2 separate regions of the Homo sapiens genome follow, and region 1 is linked to region 2. Evidence: promoter capture Hi-C in 16 types of primary human blood cells and fetal thymus (Javierre and others, 2016). All regions are on one chromosome and are shown on one strand. Each heading gives the region's core, a stretch centred on a gene start or on the middle of the fragment in contact. The rest is flanking DNA. Distances are from core to core; before and after follow the strand shown. Region 1 holds the start of NAA10 (N-alpha-acetyltransferase 10, NatA catalytic subunit). Region 2 holds the start of CCNQ (cyclin Q).

Region 1 (7,141 bases), core at 4,642-7,141, 340 kb before region 2:
CCTCAGGTGATCCGCCCGCCTCAGCCTCCCAAAGTGCTGGGATTATAGGCGTGAGCCACCGCACCCGGCTGGTTGCCCATTTTTATGCTTATTTCTTGATGATATGCTAAACAAGGGGTGGATTATTCATGCCTCCCCTTTTTAGACCATATAGGGTAACTTCCTGACGTTGCCATGGCATTTGTAAACTGTTGGAAGTGAGGACGAGCAGAGGTCACTGTTGTCGCCACCTTGGTTTTGGTGGGTTTTGGCCGGCTCCTTTACTGCAACCTGTTTTATCAGCAAGGTCTTTATGACCTGTATTTTGTGCCGACCTCATATCTCATCCTGCGACTTAGAATGCCTCAGCCGTCTGGGAATGCAGCCCAGTAGGTCTCAGCCTCATTTGACCCAGCTCCTGTTTAAGATGGAGTTGCTCTGGTTTACACACCTCTGACACCATGTCATATGGAGGCCACCAGGGAGCTGGCGAAACGCTGATGCTCAGACATATATGCCATTCGTCTGGGGCCCTGGTGTCTATTCAAGAATCTACAGGTCAGGAAGCTGATATCACTGGGAGGGGTCCTTCAGAACTTCCAAAGATGTCCCGCAATTCACCTCCAGTAGCTTGGGCCAATGGAGACGCAGCCAGGTCTGGAAAGTTGCGGAGGGGAGTTTCCTGCTGAGATGCCTGCCCCTGCTCTCCCCTCAGCTGGAGTGGGCCATGAAGCTCTGGTGGCCACACAGTGAAGCCATGATTGCCTTCCTCATGGGTTACAGTGACAGTGGGGACCCTGTGCTGCTGCGCCTCTTCTACCAAGTGGCTGAGTACACCTTCCGCCAGGTGAGAGCTGCCTCCTTGTCCCCTCTAGAGGCTGAATGGGGGAATGGGGGGAGTCTGGCCCGGCTGCGCTCTTGCCCCCTCGCTGAGCACAGTCGCTCAGCTGGTCTGAGAGTTTCCGGAGCCCCAGTGCTGTTCGTTCAGTCAACGAAGAAGCCTCTGCCCTCCTAGAGCTCGAATTTTGGTGGTGGGGGCGGGAGGAGCAGAGTGTAAGCAAGCAGACCTAGGTGGTGGTGAGAGTGACAGCTGTGGGAATAATACCACTGGAGAGGGTTGTGGGGGGGCTCTTTCCTATGGGGTGGCAGCAGGGAAGCACTGAGCAGGGGCCGAGTCAATCAGGGGTGTGTCTGAGGGACTGGGAGTCTGGGCAGGGTGGGGCATGTGGCACAGCAGGGGGGCCTGGCAGCCCGGGAGGATAAAGGCAGAGTGGGCAAGGGACGGACTCCAGCTGCCTGGTCTGATTCCATTGTTACCTGGGTCCTGGGGCTTGGAGGGGAGGGTGTTATGGGGGAAGTCTGTAGGGAACAGGGCAGAAGCTGGGACAGCAGAGGAAGCTGTAGCTGTCATCCCAGCCAGTGAGGGCTGGCCCAGGTGGGAGCTGGTGGGGACAGAGGGTTCACAGTCTGGTGGAGCAGCAGTGGGATTCCTGAGTCTCCAGTTCAGACGGAGAGATCTGGACTCACCATGAATGTTTTCAGTATCACAAGAATGTAGATGCTGCCTGGCACAGTGGCTCATGTCTATAATCCTAGCACTTTGGCAGGCTGAGACGGGAGGATCGCTTGAACCGAGGACTTCAAAACCAGTCTGGGCAACATAACGAGACCTGGTCTCTACAAAAAATTTTAAAAAATTAGCTGGGTGTCATGCACACCTGTAGTCCTAGCTACTCAGGAGGCTGAGGCAGGAGGACTGCTTAAGCCCAGTTTGAGGCTGCAATGAGTTATGATCACACCACTGCACTCCAGCCTGGGCTGGGCAACAGAGCGAGACTATGTCTCAAAAAAAAAAGGCCGGGCACGGTGGCTCACGCCTGTAATCCCAGCACTTTGGGAGACTGAGGCAGGTGGATCACCTGAGGTCAGGAGTTCAAGACCAGCCTGGCCAACATGGTGAAACCCCATCTCTACTAAAAATACAAAAATTAGCCAAGCGTGGTGGTGGGTGCCTGTAATCCCAGCTACTTGGGAGGCAGAGGCAGGAGAATCGCTTGAACCCAGGAGGCAGAGGTTGCAGTGAGCCGAGATCGCACCATTGCACTCCAGCCTGGGGGACAAGAGCAAGACTTGGTCTCAAAAAAAAAAAAAACAAAAAAAAAAAAACAGTACAGATGCTGCTGAGATCTATGAGGCAAAAAGGGAAATGGGGGCCCAGCAAAGGAGACAAGAATCAGTGGTGACGCAGGAAGAAAACCAAGCCAGGGGCTCCCTGAAGCCCAAGTGCTAGGAGCAGAGTGATAAGCTGTCTTGACTGCTGCCCAGGAGGCAACTCGAGCTGCTGAACACAGGAAAGGGCATGGCACCCAGTGGAAAGGGCATGGCACCCAGTGGAAAGGGCATGGCACCCAGTGGTGGCAAGGCCTGGGTGGTGAATGAATGAAGATTCATCATGCGTTTCTAAAGCCACGACTCCGACTCCACTGGTGAACCCTGGTACTGCGAGGACTATAGCAGGGGATCTTATTCTGGGGTCTGTGAGCTTCGAAACCGGGGGCGGAGAATCACATCTTTATTTGTACTAACCTCTAACTGAAACTAGCATTTGCTGCCATTATGAGTGGAGGCAATGAACCACATTGGTAATAGAAGTGCCTGGCTTTGTCACCGATAGAAATCCAGATGTGTTTACATTGCATTGCAGTTAGAGAGACATCTGCAAGTATCACATATATTCGTCACTACTTCCAAAGCAGCAGGGTTGTTAGACCTGCAGCTATATCTTAATATTTAATGCATTCATAGAGTGTGTGTTAGGGGCCACCAGTTCTAACTCAAAAATGAAATTGAAGGAATACATTTTAATAAGATATAGATGACATTAAACAATTACAAAAGTTATAATCAACAGGTAAATCGGCTGGGCATGGTGGCTCATGCCTGTAATCTCAGCACTTTGGGAGACTGAGGCGGGTGGATCACCTGAGGTCAGGAGTTCTGGACCAGCCTGGTCAACATGGCGAAACCCCGTCTCTACTAAAAATACAAAAATTGGGCTGGTCGCGGTGGCTCACGCCTGCCATTCCAGCACTTTGAAAGGCCGAGGCAGGTGGATCACTTGAGGTCAGGAGTTCGAGAACAGCCTGGCTGACATGGTGAAACCCCCATCTCTATTAAAAATACAAAAAATTAGCCGGGTGTGGTGGCGGGTGCCTGTAATCCCAACTACTGGGGAGACTGAGGCAGGAGAATCACTTGAACCCGGGAAGCACTCCAGCCTGGGCAACAGGAGCAAAACTCCATTAAAAAAAATAAAAAATAAAAAAAATAAATAAATAAATTAGCCGGGCTTGGTGGCGGGTGCCTGTAATCCCAGCTACTCAGGAGGCTGAAGCAGGAGAATCACTGGAACCTGGGAGGTGAAGGTTGCAGTGAGCTGGGATCACGCCACTGCACTCCATCCAGTCTGGGTGACAAGAGCGAAACTCCGTCTTAAAAAAACAAAAACCAAAAAACTAACCAACAAACAAAAAAACAGGTAAGTCATTATGCATCAACCAACATAACAGAATACAGAAGGCAAAAATCCAGACATTGAAGGAAATTCTTCTTTACCTTCCTGTGTCATGTCAAGCAGTCAAAAAATAAGTAAGGACTTGAACAATGTAACTCAAAAGACAGAATGAATACACACAGAACTAGTTTTTATTTATTTATTTATTTATTTATTTATTTATTTATTTATTTATTTTTGAGACAGGGTCTCTATCGCCCAGGCTGAGTGCAGTGGCACAATCATGGCTCAGTGCAGCCTCAACCTCCTGGGCTCAAGCGATCCTTCCACCTCAGCCACCCAGGTAGCTGGGACTACAGCTGTGTGCCATCACGCCCAGCTAATTCTTTAATTTTTTTTTTGTATAGATGGGGTCTCACTATGTTTCCCAGCCTGGTCTTAAACTCCTGGCCTCAAGTGATCCTCCCGCCTCGGCCTCTCAAAGTGCTGGGATTATAGGCGTGAGCCACTGTGCCCAGCCCAGGACTAGTTTTACTTCCTACAAAGAAGAATACACCAACTCTTATGGGCCACCATTTAAAGAGACATTTTCATAGTGGACTTCAATGTAATTGAGTCCATGATCCTTTTGAGAAGGGGCTGAACTGACAAGCCTCCCTGAGACAGGTGCCCCATGGAATGCTAGTGGAGAGAGAAGGAAAGAGAGTGGAATGGGCACTGGGCAGGGGCAGAGGGAGGAGGAGATGAGTTTGGGACCAATGGTGAGCCAGGACAGGAGTCAGATGAGATTGTGCATCTACTGGAAGACAGGCCTGTGAAGCCGGGAATGGGAGCTCCAAGGGAGTCACTTCTTAAGAGTTTCATGACAGGTCGTCGCCTCCATCAGGGTTCTTTGTTTCTTTTCTTTTCCTTTTTTTTTTTTTTTTTTTGAGACGGAGTCTGGCTCTGTTGCCCAGGCTGGAGTGCAGTGGCGCGATCTTGGCTCACTGCAAGCTCCGCCTCCCGGGTTCACGCCATTCTCCTGCCTCAGCCTCCCGAGTAGCTGGGACTACAGGTGCCCGCCACCACTCCCGGCTAATTTTTTGTATTTTAGTAGAGACGGGATTTCACTGTGTTAGCCAGGATGGTCTCGATCTCCTGACCTTGTGATCCGCCCGCCTCGGCCTCCCAAAGTGCTGGGATTACAGGTGTGAGCCTTTGCACCCGGCCGGGTTCTTTGTTTCTTTGAATCAACGTAACCACGACTACAATCACAATAGAGAACTTTTTTGTTTGTTTGTTTGTTCGTTTGTTTGTTTGTTTGAGATGGAGTCTCGCTCTGTCACCCAGGCTGGAGCGCAATGGCGTGATCTCAGCTCACTGCAACCTCCGCCTCCTGTGTTCAAGCTATTCTCCCGCCTCAGCCTCCCGAGTATACTGCTGGGATTACAAGTGCGTGCCACCACGTCCGGCTAATTTTGTATTTTTAGTAGAGATGAGGTTTCACCATGTTGTCCAGGCTGATCTTGAACTCCTGACCTCAGGTGATCCGCCCGCCTCGGCCTCCGAAAGTGCTGGGATTACAGGCGCAAGCCACAGCTCCCGGCCCGATAGACAACGTTTCTACACCCCAGGGCAGAGTTCTTTCATTCCATCTAGCAGTGTCTCATCCCCTTGCCCAGTCGGTTATATAGTTGTAGCCTGCCTGCTGCGCCCACCCCTGCTTTCATCTTTGTGGAGGACGCAGTGTCGCGGTTAAGATCGCTGGTTCTGGAGCCACGTCACCTGGGGTCAACCCAGGCTCTGACCCCTGGTAGCGATGCAGTGGCATCTGGGCGGGTCCTGCAGGCGCTAGCTGTCACTGTCTCTGTTATTCCAGTTTCGCGATCCCGAGTACGGGGAATGGTTTGGCTACCTGAGCCGAGAGGGCAAGGTGGCCCTCTCCATCAAGGGAGGTCCTTTCAAAGGTGAGTGGGGGAGAGGGCGGGGCCGCAGGGGTTGCGCCTCTCGGCTGCCCCCGGCCCTCACTACCTGCCCGCCTCTACCCGCAGGCTGCTTCCACGTGCCGCGGTGCCTAGCCATGTGCGAGGAGATGCTGGGCGCCCTGCTGAGCCGCCCCGCCCCCGCCCCCTCCCCCGCCCCCACCCCCGCCTGCCGAGGCGCGGAATAAAGGCTGAGTCCGCTCCACCTGCGGCTGTGCGCGCGTCTGTGGGCTCGCGGGAGGGGGGCTGTCGCGCCGAGGGAGGGGCCGGCTCCAGCTCCGGGGCAGCGCCCGCCCCGCCCCCAGGCCCGCCCCGCGCTGACCGGCTCCGCGCATTGGCCCGCCCCGTGCGCTGGCCTGTCCCGCGCATTGGCCAAGCGGCCGGGAGGACGGGCCCGGCGGCCGTGCACTTCCGGCCGGTGGCCGGCCCGGCGCGCACCGCCCCTTCCGCCGTCGCCCAGCGAGCCCAGCTCCGGTCCCAGCCCCGGCCGTCCCGGCGTCGCTTCGGAGCGCGGCGGCAGCTGACTGCGCCTTCACGATCCGCTGGGACCCGCGAGCCCCGCCGCCGTTATGAACATCCGCAATGCGAGGGTGAGCGCCCGGGGCGGGAGGCTGTCCGCGCCGCGTGGGCGCCGGGCCGGGTGGCTGCCGCGCATGCTCCCGAGGGCCCCGGCCGAGCCCGGCCCGGTGGCCCTGAGTGTGCCTGCGGCCGCTGGACCTATGGGGCTGGCCCAGCCCGCCGAAGAGGCCGGGGCGCGGGGCCGGGGCTGCGATTCCCTCCTGTTTGCGTGATGTCGGGCCTCCGTTGGGTGGGCTCCGGGGACCTCCGGGGCGCCCACTCCTGTTCCTGTGCTCCGGGCGTTGTGCAAAGTCAGATCGTCACAGTGCCTGCCCAGCCCCGAGGGAGCGGGGCCGAGCAGACCGACGGGGAGCAGGCTTCTCACCCGTGGTCACCGCCGCCTTAGACTGAGCGCGTTCCACTGCCCTCCTTCCCTGCAGCCAGAGGACCTAATGAACATGCAGCACTGCAACCTCCTCTGCCTGCCCGAGAACTACCAGATGAAATACTACTTCTACCATGGCCTTTCCTGGCCCCAGGTGGGCAGCTTCTGAATTTGGGCATGGGGGAAAGCAGGCCGAGGAAAATCCCATCTGGCCATCTTGGAGGGAGTGGACAAGTCTGTCAGAGCCCAGGGGGCTGTATGGTCGGTGGCGTCCTGGGTGTTTTCAGCTGGCAGACAGGGGCAAAGGAAAAGAAGGCGCCCGAAGGGAGCAGAGAATAGGGGCAGGATCCCCACTTTGCGTCTTCTTTCTGGGTATGGGCAGGGCACAGTGTGGCGAGGGGGAGACCAAGCCACTCAGCCCGGAGGTCATGAGCCATCACACAACTCGCCACTCGTCCAGTTTGTGTCCCTCTAAAGGGCTCTTCTAGCTCCGACAAGAAGTTTTCTCACTCTGTTTTCCTGTCACCAGCTCTCTTACATTGCTGAGGACGAGAATGGGAAGATTGTGGGGTATGTCCTGGCCAAAATGTGAGTCACCAAGGAGGAAGACAGAAGCTACACGTGTCTGGTGGATGCCTCTGTGGGCTTTAAAAAAAATGAATAGGCTTCTTCTTTTCAGTACAGTTGAAAGTTTATAGAAAAATTGAACAGAAAGGACATGGAGTTCTTATAGCACCCCTCAGC
Region 2 (6,932 bases), core at 3,667-6,166:
AGGAAACAAATACATCCTCACTTTGATACTTTTGTACAAATACGCCATAGGAAAATAACACATTTAGGGCCCCACTAATGCATGACAATTGAGTAACTCATGCTATAGACGGGCCTCCTTCTTCTCTCCCTGATACCTTGACCTCTACCCTCCCTCCCTTCCTTAGCCACTTGCTCCTGATCCCCAGATCCTGTCAGCATGTTGTCATGGATAGAGTGGACCTGTGTGACATGCGAGGGATGGCGAGATCAAGGTCCCTGGAGACAGACTGTGGCATGGAGCCGGAGAGCTAAAGCATCTTAGCGGGAAGGATAGTAAAAGCATAATGTTGCTCTTTGGGGCAAGTGGAAACTTCTAGAGTTCTCGTGTATGAGAATGGAACTGCAAATCATTTGCCAGTGGCTTTCCTGCTTTGCTCCAGCGAGAGGGTCACAGTGGGACCAGTGGCTGTGAGTGGAGTCCCCATGGGGTTGCAGGACAGGAGCTTCCACAAGGTGCCTCCTGCTGCAGGAGCCTTCACCCACCCGAGACGGGGAGCCAGCTGCTCATCACAGGAGGGGCTCAGGGGCTGCCTAGGAGACAGATTTCGGGCAAAGGTGTTTCCATCAGCTCCCACTCTGGCTGCTGTGCGCCCCCACAATGAGGATCCCCCATCTCCAACCATCGCAGCGGAGCCTTGTTTCAGAGGTGACCTCGCTGACCTCGTTGCAGGACTTTGAGGGTACACCCCACTCTGGTCCCCTCCCGCACCGCCTCCTTGCTATCAGGAGTCGTCCCTGGGCTATCGGAGGCCCAGGACAGCCCGGCCACCCTTGCTGTGGCTGTCCTGCTGACGCCCTGGGTTTCTCAGCTCCTTGCATTCACTTGGCCCTTCTGAGAGCTTCCTGGCTCCGTAACATTGCCCGCTTCTTCCAGCTGCTCTGCCCTCCGACTTTCTTTGCTGGCCAGTCTCCCAGCTCTTCCTTGTGAAACCCCTTCTCCCCATAAGAAGATTTTGTCCTCAGTGGCCCGATTGCATGTGGTAGTTTTAAAAAATAATGGATTTACTCAGATATCATTCACATACCATAAAATTCACCCACTTAAAGCATTCACAGAGTTGTGCCACCATTGCCACTATCTAATTCCAGAACATCCTTGTCACCCCTGTCTCCATCAGCAGTCACTCCCTGTGCTCCCTCCCTGGCCCTGGCACCCACTCATCTGGTTTCAGTCTCCCACACATCTATTGCTGGGGTGGATTTTCCGGCCCTCATGCCCAACTGGCACCACTTCTCCTTAGGTCCAACTTGGTCACACCCAAGATCCCGTGCATGCTCAGAGCTTGCTCAATTACTCTACTGAGCTCCTGGTTACTCAAATCGCTGAAAAAGAAAATAATACCAGGCAGAAGATTCACCAAAAAGTTACAATCTGACCAGGTTTTGTGGCTCACACCTGTAATTCCAGCACTTTGGGAGGCCGAGGTGGCCAAATCACCTGAGGTCAGGAGTTTGAGACCAGCCTGGCCAACATGGTGAAACCCCGTCTCTACTAAAAATACAAAAAATTAGCTGGGTGTGGTGGCACACGCCTGGCCTGTAATGCCAGCTACTCAGGAGGCTGAGGCAGGAGTATCACCTGAACCCGGGAGGTGGAGGTTACAGTGAGCCAAGATCATGCTACTGCACTCCAGCCTGGGCGGCAGAGTGAGAATCTGTCTCAATAAATAAATAAATAAATAAATAAATAAATAATTGAATAGAAAGATGAAGGGTGGGTAGGCAGTGGGGAGCGGGGAGGGAGAACAGAGATGGAGGCTGTGGATCTTGCCGATGGTGACAGGGAGCTGGCTCGGAAGGTACAGTGGAGAGGTGACTGTGGCAGGAGGTTCCCAGGCAGCGAGGAGTTTCTAAGGACAAGTGGCAGGCCTGGACTTTGATGAGGCTGCCAGGATGAAGACCAGAGCAGGGTGGGTGCTTTGGAAATTGCCCATGCTTTTTGAAGACCACACAGGCTTTCAAGTGACCCTGCCCGTGCACAGCCTCTCTTCTGGACCCCAAATGCCTCTTCCCTCTTTCTCTGCCTCATCCTTTGAGCTTCAGCCCGAGTCCTATTCCTTGAAATGAGTCACTCACTCTTTTCCATAATAGTGCTATTGTGAGGGGTAGGCTGTGATTTAATCAATGTATGGGCACATGGTGAGGATTAGCTAAGGAAGCGTTGGCAAATATTACAGAATCGCGCTTCTGATGGTGACTGTCAACCTCAGGGTCGAGCCTGGGGTTGAGAACCAGGCTTCAGCCCTCAAGGAACTCACCATCTGAGCCGGGGTGATGAGACGGGGGATGCCACCTTTGGGACACTGGGGACAGGCTTGCCAGTGGGAGAGGAGGTGCTGCCTAAAGGTTTGCTGGCTCCAGTTGGTGGCTAGTGAATTATTCATTCATCAACCACTGCGCCGAGGTGACCCAGGGCTTTAAAATTCATGTGTTCATTGAGTCATTCTCTCGGCTCACATTCCCAGGCACCTTTTACTTGCTGAGCCCGGACTCTTTTCAGCACATAAGGCCCAGAGGAGAAGGAGGAGTTGTGCCTAGAGGATGGGCGGGCCACCAGGGGCCAGAGGGAAGCACTGTTTGAATTGGGGTGTTCACATATGTGCACGTGTGCATGTGTGTATGTGGGGGGGGGATGTGTGATGCATGTGTGTGCGTGTGCATGGGGGTGTGTGTTAGTGTGCACAGATGTGGTGGTGGGGGAAGCTGAGAGGCAGCAGCCTGATCCCCCAAGGCCCATAGCTGCTTTAGGGAACATGGGCTTGAGCCTTCCAGATCTAGCTGTGGCTGGTCCAGCCCAGGGCACTGTCTGGGGGAACACAGGACCTGGCCTCCACCAACGGGGCTGAGGGGAGGTGGGCCCTCTGGGCATTGCCTAGGTTTCAGCCTTGGGCTGGGGAAGAGGGTGGGGCTGCTCACAGCTTGCAGACAGACACGGTGCTCAAGGCGTGGCAGGTGTCAGCAGCACAGGGAGCTGGGGACCCTGAGTCAGTCCACACACGCACACATATGCACACACACGTGCACACCCGCGCACATACAGACAAGAGCAAGCTGGGTGATGGAAGTGGAGTGGTAATTCCTTCACCAGGCAGAATACGTGCAGAGACGTTCAGCCAGGAGACCATAACCTTTGGGGGACCTGCCGAAGGTCTCTGCCATGAGGCAAAGTGGTGAGATCCGAGGCTGGTCAGTTGATAGGGTGACTCCACAAGGACCAGCATGTGAGGTCAAGGCCTCACATTTTCTCCTGAAGGTGAAGGGACTCCGGAGGGTGTTAGGCAGGGCAGGACCTGTTCAGCCTCGCCTTTTAGAAAGCTCGCTCTGGCGGCTGGTATTGTGGGGTGAATGCCAGCCCCCAAAAGGTGTGTCCGTGTCCTAATCCCTGTTACTGTGACCTTATTTAGCAGAAGGGCCTTTGCAAGATGTAATGAAAATAAGGATGTCAAGATGAGCTCCTCCTGGATTATCTAGGTAGGCCCTAATCCAGTGACAGGTGTGCTTATAAGAGACAGACGAGAAGACAGGGAGAAGGCCATGTAGAGACGGAGGCACAGATTGGAGTGATGGGGCCACAAGCCCAGGAAGAACTCAGGCTGCAGAAGCTGGAAGAGCAAGGAAGAACTGATCCTCTGCCAGAGCCTTTGAGGGAGCAAAGCCCTAGTGTCACCTCCATTTCAGGTGTCTGGCCTCCAGAATTGAGAGAGGATATACTTCTGCTGTTTTTAGCAACCCAATTTGTGGTCATTTGTTACAGCAGCCCCAGGAAACTAACCCAGCTGGGATGGAGAGAGGACTTGGGGAGGCTGGTGGAGGCAGGAAGTGCTGAGGAAGGAGAATGAGGCCGGACTGGGTGTGTGGGGTGGGGGTAAGAGGTGGAGACTTCCACACCATCAGGAGATCAAGGCGCCTGGGCAGAAGGGTTTAGGGAGCAGTAGCTTTTTCCTCTCCATATTGCCAGCTGTCTGAAATTGTAGCAATGATCTGAATGTATCAGAATGACTCCAGTGACTGTCACTAACTTGGGAGTGAGTACCTTTGGGGTTCTATGTCCCTAAAGCCTGATGCACCATTTCCTGCTTGTGGAAGACGCGAATGAAAAATGAGATGGTAAATACCTGAGTTCGATATTCAGCATTCATTCAGCAAACATTTATTAGGCTCCTACTGTGCGTCGCGCTGGAAAGGCAAGCAGAAGCTAGATTCCCAATCGATCCCGGGAGGCTGGACGATCCAGACACAAACACCGTTCATGCGTCTATTCGAAAAGGCCCTCTTGGAATTTTGTGCACAGCATTTCCTTGGGGTGTCGATGGATCGGGGTCTGCAAACATTAGCACCTTTTCCGGTGGCCGCTGTCTTCTCAGACCTCAGACACCGGCGCCTCCCCGTGAACTCCCGCAGGCGTCCCTAGCCCAGGGCTTGGCGGGCGCTGCCGGTTGTACCTGGCCTAAGCCACGCTGGGCCGACAGCCCGGGGCGACACCCCCTTCGGACGGCGGGGATTTGCGGCTCGGGTGACCGGAGGTGCCCTCCCGCGGGTCTCGGAGCAGCTCCGCGGGCTCTCGCTCCGCGGGGAGGAGCCTGCGTCTCCCAGGGGCGGGGCTCGAGGCGCCTAGGGGCCGGTGGACACATACCAGCCGCCCCGTGGTGTCGGCCTCTGCGCCTGCGCCTGCGCCTGCGCGCGCGGCCAGGCAGCGTCTGTGGCGCAAGCGCGCGCTCACCCTTGGGCGAGGGCCCTGAGGGGCGGGGCGGGGCGGAGGAGCGGCGGGGCGGCGAGGGGCGGGGCGGGGCGGCGAGGGGCGGGGCGGGGCGGCGAGGGGCGGGGCGGGGCGGGGCCGGACGCGGCCGGGTGGGGCGGCAGCGCCCGCCGCGAGCACCTCCAGTTCTGCCGGCTTCTGCGCGCCGGGGCCGCCTCTCCTTCCGCCGGTGCCGCGGCGCCTCATGGAAGCCCCGGAGGGCGGCGGAGGGGGGCCTGCAGCGCGGGGCCCGGAGGGGCAGCCGGCGCCCGAAGCCAGGGTGCACTTCCGAGTGGCGAGGTTCATCATGGAGGCAGGTAACCGCGGCCGGGGGAGGCCAGGACAGGCGGCGCCGCGGCCCGCTTCGCGGAGCGGGCCCGGCTGGCCAGGCCGGCCTTCTGGAGTGCTCACCGTAGCAGAGGCCGGGAAGCCCTGCTCGGGGCTGAGGACCTCCGCCTTTGCGCCGCGCCCGGTGTGCTGAGCAGTGAGCCGCGAGGTATCCCCATGGCGTGGACCGGTGTGCAGGCCCTAGGAGAGGACGTGGCCGGGTTGGGCCTCCAGCGAGGCGGAGACCGGCCCGGGCGCCCGCAGCTCTGCGCAGTGCGCCACGCCTTCTGCCGGCACCCGCGGCCCTGCACTCCGGTAGACTTTATGGCGCTTAGTCGCGCGGAGCCTTTTGGAGAACGCTGTCCGAGGGTTCCTGTCACTCCGGGGACCTAGGCTGCTTGCAGCTCCTGTTCCGAACCCTGCCAGGACATCCACAGTAGTGTTGGGCTCCGCGCTTCCCAGGCGAGGTGATTAAGCTAAGATCTCTGTAGAAACATCGTTTCCATCCAGCCATCAACAGTATTTTTTTTTTTTTCGAGACGGAGTCTCGCTCTGTTGGCCAGGCTGGAGTGCAGTGGCGTGATCTCGGCTCACTGCAACCTCCGTCTCCCGGACTAAAGCAATTATCCTTCCTCACGCTTCCGAGTAGCTGGAATTACAGGTGTGTGCCACCGTACCCGGCTAATGTTTGTATTTTTAGTAGAGACGGGGTTTCACCATGTTGGCCAGGCTGGTCTTGAACTCCTGGCCTCAGGTGATCCAGTTGCCTCGCCCTCCCAAAGTGCTGGGATTACAGGCGTGAGCTACCTCGTCCGGCCCATCAACAGTATCTTGATAGGAGATACTGTTAGTTGGCGGGTAGTTATTTCCTACCTTTACTGCTTGGGGGAGAAGGGTTGGGCAGATGTGCTTTCTACCCAAGGTGGGCGGAGAGTCTGAGGACTGCTGCAGGACTGTTCATCCCAGTGATATGTAAATTTACTGTAATTTGCAAGAAGAGTTGCAAAGTTATTATTAGGGAAGGATGGCAGTGACACCTCATCTGCTACCGTCTGCTCGGAGGGTCCGTGTAAATTGGGGTTTGCTCTGTAAAACAAAGCTTGGAAGGTCATGTCAGTAACAGCACCTTATCTGGCATCTCCTGGAATGAGGGGTCCCAGGTAGGAATTGTCTTTATATAACAAGTTTAGACCTTCTGAGGGACTTCTTTATAAAATGTATTACACAATCCTTTGTCCTTTGTAGGAGGCTAAATATTGATTTCCCAAAGATGTCCCTATCCTAATCCCTGGAACCTGTGAATGTCATCTTATATAGCAAAAGAGATTTTGAAGATGTGATTAGAGACCTTAAGATGGGAGATCATCCTAGATTATCTGGGTGTAACCACACCCATCCTTATAAGGCAAAGGCAGGAGGAGTCACCGTCAGAGAAGGCCACGTGAGGACAGAAGCAGAGTTAGAAGCTTTGAAGATGGAGGAAGGGGCCAGCAACCAAGGAATGCAGCCCTCCTCTAGAAGCTGGAAAAGGCAAGGAAACATTCTCCCATGGAGCCTCCAGAAGGAGCCAGCCCTGCTTAGACGTTGATCTTAGCTTTCTAGGCTAGTTTTGGACTTCTGACTTCCAGGATCGGAGGAGTATAAATGTGTGTTGTTTAAGTGGCTGAATTTGTGGTGATTTGTTGCAGTAGCCCTAGGGAACTGATCTACCTTCTTAGGCAGAGGATGCTGACTGTCATTTCATGGTTGATTGTCGGTTGTTCTTCGCCTTTCTGTTTTGGCCTAGTGGATGTCATTTAACCTTGTCTTGTGAACCCTGGTGGTTGTGA

Evidence for each region. Contacts are between HindIII fragments. The CHiCAGO score rates a contact against its expected background, and 5 or more counts as called.
Region 1: a contact is called between the fragment with the promoter of NAA10 here and the fragment with the promoter of CCNQ in region 2, in 3 of 17 cell types (neutrophils, non-activated CD4 T cells and naive CD4 T cells). The highest score is 7.2, in neutrophils.

What each region holds. Positions count from the first base shown.
Region 1 is chrX:153,933,787-153,940,927 of GRCh38, reverse strand. It overlaps NAA10 (N-alpha-acetyltransferase 10, NatA catalytic subunit), which reads left to right and starts at 5,891. Exons shown (of 8, transcript NM_003491.4): 1 at 5,891-6,044; 2 at 6,453-6,551; 3 at 6,927-6,985. The coding sequence starts at 6,024. RENBP (renin binding protein) reads left to right here. Exons shown (of 11, transcript NM_002910.6): 9 at 695-826; 10 at 5,352-5,439; 11 at 5,524-5,659. The coding sequence ends at 5,642. RefSeq lists enhancers at 719-1,483, 4,621-5,125, 5,126-5,631 and a silencer at 5,622-6,201. The HindIII fragment of the contact is 15,713 bases long and covers 1-7,141 here.
Region 2 is chrX:153,597,123-153,604,054 of GRCh38, reverse strand. It overlaps CCNQ (cyclin Q), which reads left to right and starts at 4,916. Exons shown (of 5, transcript NM_152274.5): 1 at 4,916-5,093. The coding sequence starts at 4,982. LOC105373383 (a long non-coding RNA gene) reads right to left here and starts at 4,715. Exons shown (of 1, transcript NR_131982.1): 1 at 4,162-4,715. RefSeq lists enhancers at 2,404-2,903, 2,904-3,405 and silencers at 4,546-4,685, 4,786-4,835, 4,846-5,205. The HindIII fragment of the contact is 8,000 bases long and covers 1-6,204 here.